Linked DNA regions of Homo sapiens: all the other regions are linked to region 3. The links are contacts of gene promoters, found by promoter capture Hi-C in blood cells and fetal thymus (Javierre and others, 2016). All regions are on one chromosome and are shown on one strand. The core of a region is centred on a gene start or on the middle of the fragment in contact, and the rest is flanking DNA. Distances in the headings are between cores, read along the strand shown. Region 1 overlaps ARHGEF10 (Rho guanine nucleotide exchange factor 10). Region 2 overlaps ARHGEF10 (Rho guanine nucleotide exchange factor 10). Region 3 holds the start of MYOM2 (myomesin 2).

Region 1 (4,764 bases), core at 818-3,317, 140 kb after region 3:
CGATATAATTTAGAAGTGACAAACCAAGAGAACCGGAAGAAACAAACACTGAGAGTGAATTTGAAGCCATTTGATGAAAACTCTGAGGGAGGTATTACAGGCAGCCCCATGGAGATGTGGTTCATGGATGTACCTGGGTTTTGTCAGCATAAACGGTAAGGAGTGAGCTGAGATGAGCAGAGTGAAGGGACGTCATTCACCGGCTGCAGCGTGGCACTCATGGGATCAACATGATGGATGTGATACCACATAGACCCACTCAAGATCAATGCTAACAAGAGACTGTCGGTCCACCCTGGATGAATCCAGACGTGTCGGGATAGAAGCCCTGCCAGTCCCAGCACCAAGCACGGTGCCCACTTTCACCTTCTCTGTAAATGCAAGACAGCACCATGCTCTTACCTGACGCCGGAAAAAAGCCCCAGAGAATTCTGACTTGAGTTCTATCTTCAGACACATACAGAATTAGCACATTTTAAATAATTTGTTTTAAAAGTTTCTTTTTTAATCTAGAGGAACAAAACACTATTGATGGCAAAACAAGTTTATCATTTAAGCTCTCTGTTTAAGGCATTGGGCAAAAAGATGTCCCATGGAAAAATGGTTTCACTGAGGTTAACTAGGTGCTTTTCCATAGAGACGTGATAAAAAAAAAATCAATGCAGGTATGCAAAACACAATCATATACGTTTTCAAGTGTGTTTCAAAGTCCCCTTAACTGGAGATATAACACCAAAGACCTCCTTGAATTCAGAATAAAGAAAAACATTTACTCTCCAATGTGGCATATTTCTTTTTAATAGACAATGAGAACTTGTCCATACTCAGTGTTTCTCCTCTTGCTGTGGCTGATAGGAAGCTCATAGTTAAATCCAGGGTGCAAATGCAATGATAAACTCACTCCAGGTTATTTCCTCCACATAGTATTTTAAAAATGGGTTGAATCACCCTGCTTTATGCTTTTTTCACATTGCTAACTGAATCAATCTAAGTTAGCTCAGCATAAATCATAAATAATAAGATGAATAAGAAAATATAACATTGCATGGAATACATACTATTTTATGGATCAAAGTCACCTTTAGCTATTTAAATACAATAAGGCCATCTTAATTATGAATAAATTCTAAGATTGCTAGCATTATAAAATACATGAAGGTGTTTTTGTTCACAAAACCACAATATAAATTTGATTGCCAATCAATGTTTCCAAATAATTTAAAAGGATTTTTAAAAATCTTTAACAAGGCATCCAATTTGCTCTTGAATAAAATGTTAATGAATCATGTCAGAAATGATTTCTCTGTCCCCATGTCCCCTCTCCCTCGGCTCCTCCCTCTCGCTCTCCATACCACCCCCCAGAACAGCTCTTTTGGGAAATCTGGGTTTTGGTACTTCAGTTATTTGTGGAGAGGGTTTGATACAGACGCATACCACTTTAAATAGGACGAGGATTTAAGAGTCAGAAATTTAAGAGATTACAAATTGTAATAATATGCTTGACGAATTAGCCTACTAGGCAGATTACCAAACAGAATGACTATTAACATCAGGGGAATGAGAAAAATAAAAGCGGTCCCAAAGCGAATTAGACCTAATACTCCTTACATCATGTTCTGCAAATCCAGGTGAATATGCAAATTCAATCAGAAAAGGTTAAACGTTCTCACGTGGTTTCCTTGCTTCTGAACATGTCAGAAACAAAATAATCTGAAAAATTCATGCATATTTAACCTATGAAAGGTTAACTGAAAGTTCCCATGCATCGTGTTTTTTAAATTGTTCTACAATTCAGGGGTAGAGCCCAAAAAGTGAATAAAACTTAGCCAGTCGTTCTTTGGATTTTTTTTTTAATAATGAAGAGAAGGTAATGATTTTTACACTAAGATTAAAATCTGCAGTCTGAACAATGTTAGGTAATAATAATCATAAATCATGTGCAATGCTAAGACATTGCCAAAGCATTCTGACTCCTCTCCTTTCACCTTGGGAAGTTCATGGACAAGCACTGCCTCCATGGGGAAACTGAGTAAAGACATCACAACGCTGCCCAGCAGTGTGAGCAGGTGAGCAAAGAGCCGAGCTGGAACCACCACCGCCTCAAGCTCTATGACTTCCTGCACGCCAGCTCCACACACTCAAGAGACCAGCACTGCCAAGTCCTGATTTGGTTAACTGGAAACGCAAAACTGAGCTCACTGGACCGGGAAGACGGAATCCACTTCTGACTGGCCAGGTGCACGGCCCGAACCCGAAGGAGCCCCAGCTGCACGTGGGACAAGTCAGTGATGAGCAGCCGACTTGGCCATGTTAGTCAGACAGCATACAGATTCTAGAGACTGGATCACCTCTGCAGACTTGCCATGTTAAACCCTGAACCTGCTGATGGTGGAGCTTACGCTGGCCCCACAGCTAGCATGAACGTGAGAGTTACCCTGGCCCCACGGCACGAACGTGAGAGAAAGCATCACTTACTTGGTTTCGCGTTAGCAACCACGGCCAGGCTCTCCGGCGGGTGAACGGCAAGGTGCCTGCTGTGCTCGCCCGTGCCTGCGCTGCTGCCATACTCGATGGCGTCCACATGTCCCAGTGGAACGCTCCACTTCAGCAAGTACCTCTGGCTGCTCATCACACGGCTGTCATGAGAGGGGCTGAAACGACCAAAAGATCCTTGTTTTACGAATAATTACATGAACACGTTATGGTAATGTTCATCCCTCAGATGTTCAAGTGAGAAACTTCCCACTGCTGAATTGTAACTCTTCAGACTTTCTCACAATAGTAATTGTGCTTCTGACTTTCTTACTGAGTCCCCACTTGCTGCCATAAAGAGGCCTCGAACTGGATGAGAGAGAGTGCAGGGAAGAGCCGCACAGGGGACGGATCTCCCGGAAGCTCCGAGGTTTTCCATAAAGGCTTAACAGGAAGCAGCTCGGTGCTTGCTGATGACTCTGAGCAAAGGTGCTCGATTACCAGGAAAAGTCTCCTATGTGGATAGAGATATTCTCTGGCGGTTTCATAAGAGTTAACTCTCAAATTGCTGCTTTATTCTTTTATGGCTACACTGTAACCACTTTAATAGAATCAAATCATACCATTACACTCCATGACTAAAATATTTATCAAGTATACGGAAATTGAACCGAAAAAAAACCCTATGACTTATACAGATTATTTTCTTCTTTTATCATAAATAGAACATATACGTGAAGAAACACAAAACACATATGTACAGTCTAGTGGAAACGACCTGCGCCAACATCTGTGTAGCGGACTCCAAGGCCAAGGCTGTGACATCGCCAGCATCCCCGCAGCCCCAGGAAATCCCACCCTCCAGAATCAACCATTATTCTCACTTAGTGATCATCACGTTTTGCTTTTCTTCAAGATATTGCCGTTAAAAATCAAAGTGTGGGCCGGGCGCGGTGGCTCACGCCTGTAATCCCAGCACTTTGGGAGGCCAAGGCAGGCAGATCACAAGGTCAGGAGATTGAGACCATCCTGGCTAACACAGTGACACCCCATCTCTACTAAAAATATTTAAAAAATTAGCTGGGTGTGGTGGTGGGTGCCTGTAGTCCCAGCTACTAGGGAGGCTGAGGCAGGAGAATGGCGTGAACCCGGGAGGCAGAGCTTGCAGCGAGCTGAGATCGAGCCACAGCACTCCAGCCTGGGTGACAGAGCGAGACTCTTTCTCAAAAAAAAAAAAAAAAAAAAATCAAAGTGTGGGTAGAAATAACCAAAATGCCGGGTGCTATGCATTGGACTGAGCACCTGACTGGCTGGGAGCCCGTCTGCACCCAAGCTCTCCAGTTCCTTCTTACACCAGAGCACTCTGCCCTCCATGAGGACATCCAGTCCATACAGGAAGGGAAAGGAGGAAGAACAATTCAGACACAGTAAGAGGAAAGATGGGTTGTGTTCCGTGAATTAGACTGTGCCTCCAATTTAGAAAAACAGAAATGCCCATGAGTTCTTACCAAAATTCCGATTCCTCCTCTTTGAATGTAAAAATCTCCATCCCTACAGAGGAGGTTTAGAATCTTAATGTTCACAGGGCCGACCAAAGGGTCCTTGGGAGCTATTTGAAACAAAATGCATTCTCATCTCATCACCTTCGGGCACTGTCGCTGAAAATCTCACACTGACAACATGTCCATGGGAAAGGAATTGCGACTCACCACTGCACTTCGCAAAAAAAGAAATTCAAGCCCTGGCATCGTGGGAAAGGCAGGGGCGTTATTTTAAGGAATCCTCTAGCAGTAAGCACAGCTGAGTTACTTTTAAAGTATCCATTTTAATTCATCTTTAAAGTACACCACGTCTGGCAGCGGGAGAATTTTAAACGTACTTAAAACTGCCCAAGAGTCAAGTGTGTCCTGGCGCTCCCCAACAGCAGCCTGAGGGGTTCTGGAGCAGCAGTCAGTGTCAGACAAACATCAGTGATGAATGCGGAAAAGACTCAACAAGGACCATTATATTTGCTTAGGACTTTGCCGTTTACAAGGTCATTTCACTTCTATGATCTTGTCTCCCAGGGCAGGTGGAACAAGCATTAATGTCCCCAACTTGACACATCGTGTGGGCCAACTTGCAGGTGAGGAGCTGGGTGGATTCAGCCACAGTGGGGCCACTTCACTGAAAACTAACTTTCCAGGTGTTACATGGAGAGGGGGGTTCTGGGACAGTTAAACTTGGAAGCCATACTGTTAAGTGATAAACACCTTTAGTCTCCACACTATGGGAAGCACCTCATAACACCAG
Region 2 (5,144 bases), core at 1-2,500, 150 kb after region 3:
CCTCCAAAATCCTCTTAAGAGCATCTACGTAGTTCTTTTCACTGTCGACAACTGAACCCAGTATATATCTTCTTACAACCTGTTGGAAATTTGGAAGTACAATGATAGAAAACTGCTTTATAATACACACAGATACATTTTACTTCTATGCTGAGGCTTGCTGATAAGTAACTTTTCTATTTTTAGAAAACAGTGCACAAGGGTAGCCTAATTAAATAACATTACAGGTACAAAACATACTTCGCCCCATTAATACAATTATATAATGTCTTAAACCTCAAACTATGAACTATAACTACAGCTGGGACAAAAAAAATTACAGCACTGAAAAGAAATTCCTTCATTTATGCAACGATAATATACTGAATTAACAGATTGTATTTTATGTATCCAACATTCAGGTAGATGATACTTCCTATGAATTCAGGATAAAAAATAGTTCCAGTCTTGATCAATGAATGTTATTAGCAACACTTATCTAAAATATTTATTCCAAAGTTCTAAGAAAACAAAGTTTGTGGAATGTGGAGGAATCTTTTTTTTTTTTTTTTTTTTGCAAAGATCTTTCAACCATCCAAAGATCTACCTATGAGGCCAAGAATGTGGACAGTAAATTATTCATGTCACTTAGAGGTGCAAAAAAAAAATCTCTACAATCTGACATGTTTGCAATCAAAACCTGACGTTATTTTCCATCTTGCTTTTCATCACTGAAGCACATACAATAGACTTGTGGCTGTAAGATCCCGTGAAAGGCCTATGAGGACGCCCGGCATTTCCCTCATTCTAAACACAGTCCAGCTAGTGATCATTGTACTTCCAATTTGCCAATTCATGGAAAACAGAGCAAAACAGGGCAATAGAGTTTCTCCTAAACCAGCATGCGCACTCCCGCATATGAACACACGCCCGGGCACACCACACCACACACACTCCTGTACACACCCACCCCATATATGTGCAAGATAACACACACGTGCGCGCACGGAAGCACACCACACACACACATGCACACACACGGGTACTCCAGTGTAGCATCAGGCTACCTGCAGCCCTGGATTATGCTATTTGAAGGGACTGCGTTGCCACCTAGCGGGCAAAGAGCATTTTTCACAACGGAAATTTCTCTGGTTAAAAAGATTGCAGGGCAACCAAGATTTACAAAACCTGATTAACAATGGAGAGATTACTCCTTTTAGAGAAAGGATTATTCTATTCGCAAAAGACAAAAATCAACCCTTCTAAAATACCCAAAGAAGAAACTGATGTATTAAAAAAATACTAATGTATTTAAAAAATACAGGTATCGCTGGGATTAAACACACACACACACACACACACACACACACACACACACACACACACACACAGAGCCAGAAGCTGGGAAGCTGCAGCTGCTGCTACTGACTGATTCACAGGAAACGTCAGAGCACAGAGGCTTCCCTTTCAAACGAGAGCTTAGAACCCAAAGGCCAAGCAACCCCTCCCATCATCAAACCCAGGCCAGTCTTTCTTCTGAAATTCAGATTCCCAAACACTCTCCCAAGGCTCCTGAGTCACAGTTGTGGGGGTCAAACATAAAAATGTATTTGTGTATATATACATGTAATATATATAATATGTTATATATTATACTATATATATTATTGATATGTGTACCTATATTATGTATATGTATTATTTATATGTGTATATATATTATGTATGTATATTTTTTAAAGTCCTGAGATGATACTAATATAGTATCAGGTCAAAAGATCTGGAATAGGTATAATATTAAAATACAAAAACAAAACCAATATTCTGGGTTTCATGGCTACTGCACGTGATGTCAGTCTTTCTGGCAGCTCAATCTGACACGTCAAATTATATGCCCACTAAGGGGTGGGACAGGGAGCCTCCAGTGCTCAGGAAGAGTGTCACTCTCTTCCTGAGAAGCCTGACCTAAAGTCATAGAGGAGAAATCCATCCTGAATGCAGCCCCCACAGGGAGGGTCCCTGGCATGAAGGTCATGGGGCAACTGGACAAAGCCAGGGCTGGAGGACAATCAGAGAGGCTCCTAGGCCTGAGCTGGGAGAGCTGCGGATGGTGCCTGGGCCTGGCCCAGCCTGACCTTCCTCATGTCCTCACCGGGAATGGGGACGGGACAGGATCCTCTGTCCTCCAGCATCAAGGGTACTTTCCAAGTAAAGAACGACCCTTCTTTATTTCAAAAAGAACATTTGCCTTTTTCCACCCCCAAATTAGGCATGCAAAGAATGTTTAATATACAGCATTTTAGAGTTATGTTTCCCTTAATTCAATTCTAGAGGAGAACAAGAATTAAAGAGCATCAATACCCCCCATTTAACCACTCAAGAGAAAACTCTCATGGACAACACATTTGGCAGGAGGAAAACAAAATCGATGTGAATCATGACTACAATAAAGAAAGCTGCATGAAAGAATGCAGAAATCCTAAATACTGCTAAGTTTCTAATCGTAATCCCAGCTATCATCTCATTGAAAGTGACGGCACTGTGCTAACACAACACAGAGACCTTGCTATACAGGACTTCACTGAACCATTACGGTGGGATAAGCAAGATGGAAATAGACATTAAAATCCACCCTTCAAAGAAAAGGAAAACTGAACTTCAGAAATTAACTACTAGACAAAAGTAACTGAGATAATCAGAGCAAAAAACAGAATTTCATCCAGGTCTGTGAGACTAATTTGGGAAGCTTAAACCCTTTACAGAAACCATAAAACAATGAACAGTCACTGCCAATTCGCTGAGCAAATCCACCAAAATCAGTACCCAACAGACAGGCCCTTGGAAAAGTGCCATACAACAAAAAGGTCAAACCTCTTTCCTCTGATATGTGCACACACCCCTACCAATCACTACTCACTCTCTCTTCACAGAACCTCGACTCTTACCCAGTGACACCCCACGGACCCCGTGACCCACTCAGTGTCTCCTCACAGACCCCTCACACCCCACTTAGTGTCTCCTCACAACCCTCACTGCACTCAGTGTCTCTTCATAACCTTCGCCAAACTCAGTGTCTCCTCACAGACCCTTACACACTCAGTGACTCCTCAAAACTCTCACCCCACTCAGTGTCTCCTCAGAGACCCGTCTCGCCCCACTCAGAATCTCCTCACAACCCTCACCCCACTCAGTGTCTCCTCACAACACTCACCCCACTCACTGTCTCCTCACAACCTCAACCCATTCAGTGTCTTCTCACAACCCTCACCCAATTCAGTGTCTCCTCACAGACTCCTCACCCAACTCAGTGTATCCTCACAACTCTCACCCCACTCAGTATCTGCTCACAACCCTCACCCCATCAGTGTCTCCTCAGAACCCTCACCCCACTCAATGTCTCCTCACAATCCACAACCCTCAGTGCCTCCTCACAAACCCTCACCCCACTCAGTGTCTCTTCACAACCCTCACCCTATTCAGTGTCTCCTCACAAACCCTCACCCCACTCAGTGTCTCCTCACAAACCCTCACCCCACTCCGTTTTCTCACAACTCACACGGCACTCGGTGACTCCTCACAGACCCCTCACACCACACTCGGTGTCTCCGCACAGACTCCTTACCCCACTCAGTGTCTCAATACCCCTCACCGCACTCAGTGTCTCCTCACAGATTGCTCACATCACTCAGTGTCTCCTCACATACCCCTCCCCCACTCAGTGTCTCCTCACAACCCTCGCCCCACTCACTGCCTCCTAACAAAGTTCACCCCATGCAGTGTCTCCTCACAAACCCTCACCACACTCAGTGTCTCCTCACAAACCTCACCCCACCTAGTGTCTTCTCACAAACCCTCCTCCCATGAAGTGTCTGCTCACAACCCTCACCCCACTCAGTGTCTCCTCACAACCCTCATCCCACTCAATGTCTCCTCGCAACCCTCACTCCACTCAGGGTCTCCTCACAAACCTTCACCCCACTGTTTCCTCACGACCCTCACCCCACTCCGAGTTTTCTCACAACTCACACCACACTCCATGACTCCTCACAGACCCCTCACCCACACTCAGTGTCTCCTCACAAACCCCTCACCCCACTCAGTGTCTCCACACAGACTCCTTACCCTACTCAGTGTCTCCTCAATACCCCTCACCCCACTCAGTGTCTCCTCACAGACCCCTCACCCCACTCAGTGTCTCCTCACAGACCCCTCACCCCACTCAGTGTCTCCTCACAGACCCCTCACCCCACTCAGTGTCTCCTCACAGATGCCTCACATCACTGTCTCCTCACATACCCCTCACCCCACTCAGTGTCTCCTCACAACTCTTACCCACTCAGTGTCTCCTAAGAAAGCTCACCCCATGCAGTATCTCCTCACAAACCCTCACCACATTCAGTGTCTCCTCACACCTCTCATCCCACTCAATGTCTCCTCACAACCCTCACCCCATTCAGTGTCTCCTAATAAACCTCACCCCACGCTCTCCTCACAACCCCCCAACTCAGCGTCTCCTCACAACCCTCACCCCACTCACAGTGTCTCCTCACAGACCCCTCACACCCCACTCAGTGTCTCCTCACGGACCCCTCACCCCAATCACTGTCTCCTCATGACCCGCACCCCACTCCATGTTTCCTCACAACTCTCACTGCACTCCGTGACTCCTTGTAGACCCCTCACACCTCAGTGTCTCCTCGCAGACCCCTCACCCCACTCAGTGTCTCGTCACAGACCCCTCACCCCACTGTCTCCTCACAACCCTCACCCAACTCAGTGTCTCCTCATAACTCTCACCCCACTCAGTGTCTCCTCACAAACCTCACCCTATTCAGTGTCTCCTCATAACTCTCACCCCACTCAGTGTCTCCTCACAATACTCACCCCACTCAGTGTCTCCTCACAAACCTCACCCTATTCAGTGTCTCCTCACAAACCTCACCCTATTCAGTGTCTCCTCACAAACCTCACCCTATTCAGTGTCTCCTCACAAACCCTCACCCAACTCAGTGTTTCCTCAGGACCCTTACCACACTCTGTGTTTCCTCACAAACCTCACCACACTCAGTGACACCTCACAGACCCCTCACACCCCACTCAGTGTCTCCCCATACCTCACCCCACTCAGCGTCTCCTCACAGACCCCTCACCCCACTCAGTATCTC
Region 3 (5,074 bases), core at 1,005-3,504:
AGCCTGGGCCACCACCTCCTGGCCGGGTGTGATGACGTCTTTGCAAGCAAATCCCCACTGACTCAGCACGTGCTGGGTGCCTGCAGCCCTGGCAGCACAGGGCCCTTCTGAGTGGAGGGAACCCTGGAGAGGACTTGCCAAATGCACCCTACAGGTGGAGCATCCCTTATCCAAAATGCTTGGACCAGAAGAGTTTCCAATTCCCGATTTGTTTTTCAGACTGTGGAATACTTGCATTTATACTTACTGGTTGAGCAACTCAAATCCAGAAATTGGATACTTGAGATGCTCATGTAAGCATTTCCTTTGAGAGTCATACCAGCGCTCACAAAGTTTCAGAATTTAGAGCATTCTGGATTTCTGATCTTCAGATTTGGAATGATCAACCTGTACTATTTATGACACTATAAAGAAAATGACAGGACCTGGGCCGATCAGCTCCCCAATGTCCCTCTACTGTCTACATAGAAAGCTGTTTTCCTTTTTAAGGAACTATCTCAGACATGTGTTAAATACCCCCTACACACACCAACCAAAAAAAAAAAAAAGAAAAAAGAAAGAGAGAGAGAAAGAAAGCAGCTTTTCCTCGCAGGGTAGTTTTTGATGTGAGTCCCTGGGGCTCAGGCGCATTGGGAGGCTGAGACTCCAGTGGGGACCTGCTGACCTTCAGCTCAGGGGCCTCCACCTGCTCTGCTGTAAAACAGGGGGCTGAGTGAGGTGGCAGCTAACAGTCCCCCAGCTTGGACAGCCTGTGTGTAGATAATCCTGGCGCCACGCTGTACTGTTAGCACAGACCGTCCCCAGGGAAATATGACTTGCCCGGGTCACCGGTAGGGCCACGGCCGAACCCAGGCGCCAGCTGACTCTCCTGACAGCGTCCAGCCCACTTTCCACCACAGCCCAGCTCCCCGGCCACTCCCGGAATGCTCCTGACACGTTTAGGAATCATGACACCAGGATGAAACGCGAGCCTCTCCTCCAGTGCAGGGGACCACGTGTCTGATATCCCCATCCTAATTCCTTCCTGCAAACAACGTGTGGAGCCCATTCCTCATGTCACCAGGATGGGTTTTAATTTGCAAAAATGTTTGAAGTACAAAACATTGACTTCCACTTAATGAAGGAAATTGTTTGTACAGTTAAAAATGTCAAAGTCAATAAATACACCAAATTAAAGCTTTCTAGAGGGGAAAGGGACTCCCAGACACGCAGCGTTGGCCTGTGCCACAAGTGGCTAAGCCCTTGGCTCCCAAGACAAGTTTTAGCTTGGGACTTGGTTTATTAAATAACGCCTTAAATTATCTTTGTTCCACGCTTTCTTTGAGTCCTGTTTTACTTCTACTTAGTAAGAAAGGAATGTGAAATGGAGAATTAGAAAAGGCCAGGTGTTCCCAGTGATGGCAAACCCCTTCCTTCCGTTTGCCTCCGGTGCCTTCCACGTGCAACCACCCAGCCCCACTGTCTTTCTCCAGCAGGTTGCATTTCAAGAGCACGCCCTGAGAAGGCACAGCCTCTATCAGCGGAGTGGAGCTGAAGAAGTCTGAAGGGTCACAACACACCCAACAGCACAAAGAAGAAAACAGCCGTAAGAACGCTGTCATTTTTGGGCAAAAACTTGCAAGTCCTGACAAGGATTGTTCTCTTTCCCATACCGTGGATAATATAGGCTAGGTCTAAGCTGAATGACCCTCGACTCTTTTTTCCCTTAAGAAAATATCCAGTTTTATTATTTCACACCTTTATAAGTCAGCCCTCTCCTCGGGGGAGGCTTTCGTTTCTGAGAATCTCATGAAACTTGCAGACATCAGTCCACTGACTGGGGGGCCCCCTGGGGCCACGATGAGACCAGGGCTAAAACCCAAAGCACACGCCGCAGGGTGCTAAACGGCACTTAGCAAAGACCACGGCTGTGGGAAATAAAATGTTAGTTGAGCATAAAACCTCGTCAAAGAAATACAGATCCCAGAACTAATTGCTCTGTTTTCCACAGTAAAGGGTGCCTGCGACGGGGTGCACTGGCTCTCTCTTCTTGACCCTGAAGTAGAGGTACTTAGAAAATGTGAGTGCAGAAGTTACCGGTCCTCCCCTTAAAGCCACAAATTAGAAAAGGCAAGAAGAGAAAGACACTTACCCAGACAGAAAGGAAAATTGCAAGGAGGAGAGAGAATTCCTGACCACCGGCTCACCAAGCCACCCACACTCCAGCCGAGGAAGGCAGAGCTGACTCCTGCAAAGCAAGCGCCTGTGCCTCCCTCCCGTTTAAGGTCTGAGGAGCTACTATATATAGACGCCTGGGCCTGCCTCTCCCCACATCAATACCCACATCGTAAATCACCAGCCTGACCTCAGGAGGAAAAGCTTCTTGTTCAAACTGAGGGCGGGGGAAATCACGATTCAAAACTGGAACGTGTCCTTTCTGAGTCCCAAACTGCACTTTTCCCAGGAAACCGGGTGTGACACTTCAGCCCCCGACCCAGAAAGAGAGGGCAGGGCACTGACTTCCCACGCTCCCTCCCCGCAACTCTCCTCCATGAGTTCTAATCCTTACGTGTGAATTCTCAGACATATCTTCAATCCTTTCGAGCTACAGGTTCCCTGGCTCACAAATTGCAACTCCTGAATGAGTCTTTAATAATGACATGGATTTCAGTGAGCATTTGTGCCATTCGCAGGCCTGGACACCCGAGTTGAGGTCGGCTGTGGAGGGAGGGAGGTGCACAAGCCCCTGGGTTTGTGAGCGTGTGTGTGCATGTTCGTGTGTTTGTTCGTTTTTTTTTTTTTATTTCAAGAACGACTCAGGTCTTCACTCGATTGTATCTTAGGGCTATTTTAGCAAGAACTGCCTACCCAAAAGAGGAGCGGTGCCTAGTCGGCAAGTCGGGGCTTATTTATAGCCATTACCACAGACGTACACTGCGTCTACACCACACGGATAATTGCAGGGTGCCCGTCGTTTCGCACAGCGTGTGTCCAAATATAGATAACACACACCTGGCACGGTCCTGGGCTGCAGCCTGGCCAAGAGGCGGGGCCTCAAGGGGATGCCCCCATCTGAGGACCCGGAGAATCACACTCCAGCTGCACCTCACCACAGGGGCTGAGGACTTCGGCCAGCTGCTCAGCCCACGGGGGCTATGCTCCCCAGCTCTAAAACGCATGGAATAACAACTTTCCTGTAAGTTTGTTGTGACAAGTAGAGAAAATATGATAAGAGAATTGCCTTAAGAAACTCCACGTTCTCACACTGGGGTATCAGAGGCACAGCCAAGGACCAGCGAGCAGGTGGATGGAGGCGAAGATCAGATACGAGAAAGACGCGAGCACAGCCTCTTGCTGGGCCCCAGAGCGTTCTGGATGCTGGATCAGGAGGCGAGTGTTTCTGTCTTCTTCCCCTTCGTATTCTGATGGCCTAGCATTTAATTTAATTAGTGTTTGTTGAGTGATTTCTTAGTCTATTCAGGCTGCTTTAGCAAAACACCATAGACCGTGTAGCTTATAAAACACAGGAGCTTCTTTCCCACAGTTCTGGGGACTGGAAGTCCAAGATCCAGGTACCAGCAGACACTGCCTGGGGAGAGCCTTCTGGTTCTGGGACGGCGCGGTCCCTGAGTCCTCACCAAGTCAAGGGGCCAGGCCGCTCTTGGGGCCTCTGTATGAGGATACTGATCCCACTCGGGAGGTTCCACCTCCATGACCTTGTCACTTCCCTAAGGCCCCACCTCCTCACACCATCGTTTTGGGGGTTAGGGTTTTAACCCACATATTTTGGGGGGGTTGCAAACAGCAAGACCAGAGCAAGCAATGTTTACTTCCGGTTTATCAGCATCTCCTTCTCTAGCGAATCCATTTCTCAGGGACCTGGGGGACTTCCCTTCAGCCCTTCTGCCCCCCTGCCTCTGAGTGTGGCCGACACTGGAGGGGCAGTGATGGTGCCTCGTCCCCTCAGGTGGCATCTCAGTCCTCTGAGTCCCAGTCCTGGCATCTCAGTCGCCTGGGTCCCAGTCCTAGCATCTCAGGAGGGGACAATCTCATCCCGGGGAGGGGCCTCTCCTGAGAGAAGGAAGGGCCAGCACACTCCTCCTCCTTTTCTGACATTTCACGGTGGCTGTGCCCTCCTTCTGTGATATAGAAATCCAGTGCTGCGTCTAAGAAAGCCTGGATCTTTCAGCCACACCACCCAGAGAGCAGAGTGTGACCCGGGACACAGATAGGCTCCTGATGGGGACAGAGCTTCGCCTTCTGCTGGGGACAGGAGACCCCTCCCCACCCTCCTCGTAGACCCCCATCTCCCTGAGCCATGCCTGCCCCTGCCCACCCGGGATGTAGCTTCCAAAACTCCCTGGGTGAGGTGCACCTGCAGGAAGCCTGGAGCCAAGAAGGGACAAAAGACGGAGGGAGGCGGTGGGACCAGGCATGGGCCCCGCATTCTCCACCAGACACACCAGCTCTGGGGCAGACAGGCTCCTTCTTGCCGGAGTTCCTTGGGCTGACTTTCTATCATCGGCCATCAAGAGAATCCTGACTAAGACAAAGGAAGAGTCCAGCAATCTCATTTCCACAGCTCAAATTGGCAGCCTGTGAATGGAAAACAGTTGGCCTCACTGAGGATTTCCCACAACATAGAAAAGAAGATCGAAATGCAAAGAGTGACATTCTAAAACCACGTGCCTTCAATCCTGTGGAACCCCAGGCCAGACCATTCATGGGTGAAGTTATGTTCTATACAGCAACAATCCCCAACTGTTTTGGCAACAAGGACCGGTTTCGTGGAAGACAATTTTTCCAAGAACGGTGGAGAGGGGGATAGTTTTGGGATGAAACTGCTCCACCTCGGATCATCAGGCATAAGATTCTCATAAGGAGCGTCCAGCCTAGATCCCTCGCGTGTGCAGGTCACAGTAGGGTTTGTATTCCTGTGAGAATCTAAGGCCGCGGCTCTGAGAGGAGCTGGAGCTCCGGCGAGAATACTCAGTGGCCGCCATTCACCGCGCCATGCGGCCCAGCTCCTCACCGGCCACGGACCCCGAGGCTGGGGTTCAGGACCCCTGTTATATTGCACAGAGCCAAAACTGAC

The links. Contacts are between HindIII fragments. The CHiCAGO score rates a contact against its expected background, and 5 or more counts as called.
Region 1: a contact is called between a fragment that was not itself captured here and the fragment with the promoter of MYOM2 in region 3, in 1 of 17 cell types (neutrophils). The highest score is 7.3, in neutrophils.
Region 2: a fragment that was not itself captured here is called in contact with the fragment with the promoter of MYOM2 in region 3 in 14 of 17 cell types (neutrophils, monocytes, activated CD4 T cells and 11 more); the score reaches 14.3 in neutrophils.

Annotation. Positions count from the first base shown.
Region 1 is chr8:1,907,182-1,911,945 of GRCh38, reverse strand. It overlaps ARHGEF10 (Rho guanine nucleotide exchange factor 10), which reads right to left. Exons shown (of 29, transcript NM_014629.4): 18 at 2,476-2,651. Among named protein-coding and RNA genes, the nearest start is that of KBTBD11-OT1, 62 kb to the left of the region's middle. RefSeq lists enhancers at 1-155, 4,471-4,764 and a silencer at 3,361-3,462. The HindIII fragment of the contact is 8,013 bases long and covers 1-4,764 here.
Region 2 is chr8:1,888,504-1,893,647 of GRCh38, reverse strand. ARHGEF10 (Rho guanine nucleotide exchange factor 10) reads right to left here. Exons shown (of 29, transcript NM_014629.4): 12 at 2-79. Among named protein-coding and RNA genes, the nearest start is that of ARHGEF10, 67 kb to the right of the region's middle. The HindIII fragment of the contact is 2,954 bases long and covers 1-2,727 here.
Region 3 is chr8:2,042,226-2,047,299 of GRCh38, reverse strand. MYOM2 (myomesin 2) reads right to left here and starts at 2,254. Exons shown (of 37, transcript NM_003970.4): 1 at 2,132-2,254. The HindIII fragment of the contact is 1,181 bases long and covers 1,180-2,360 here.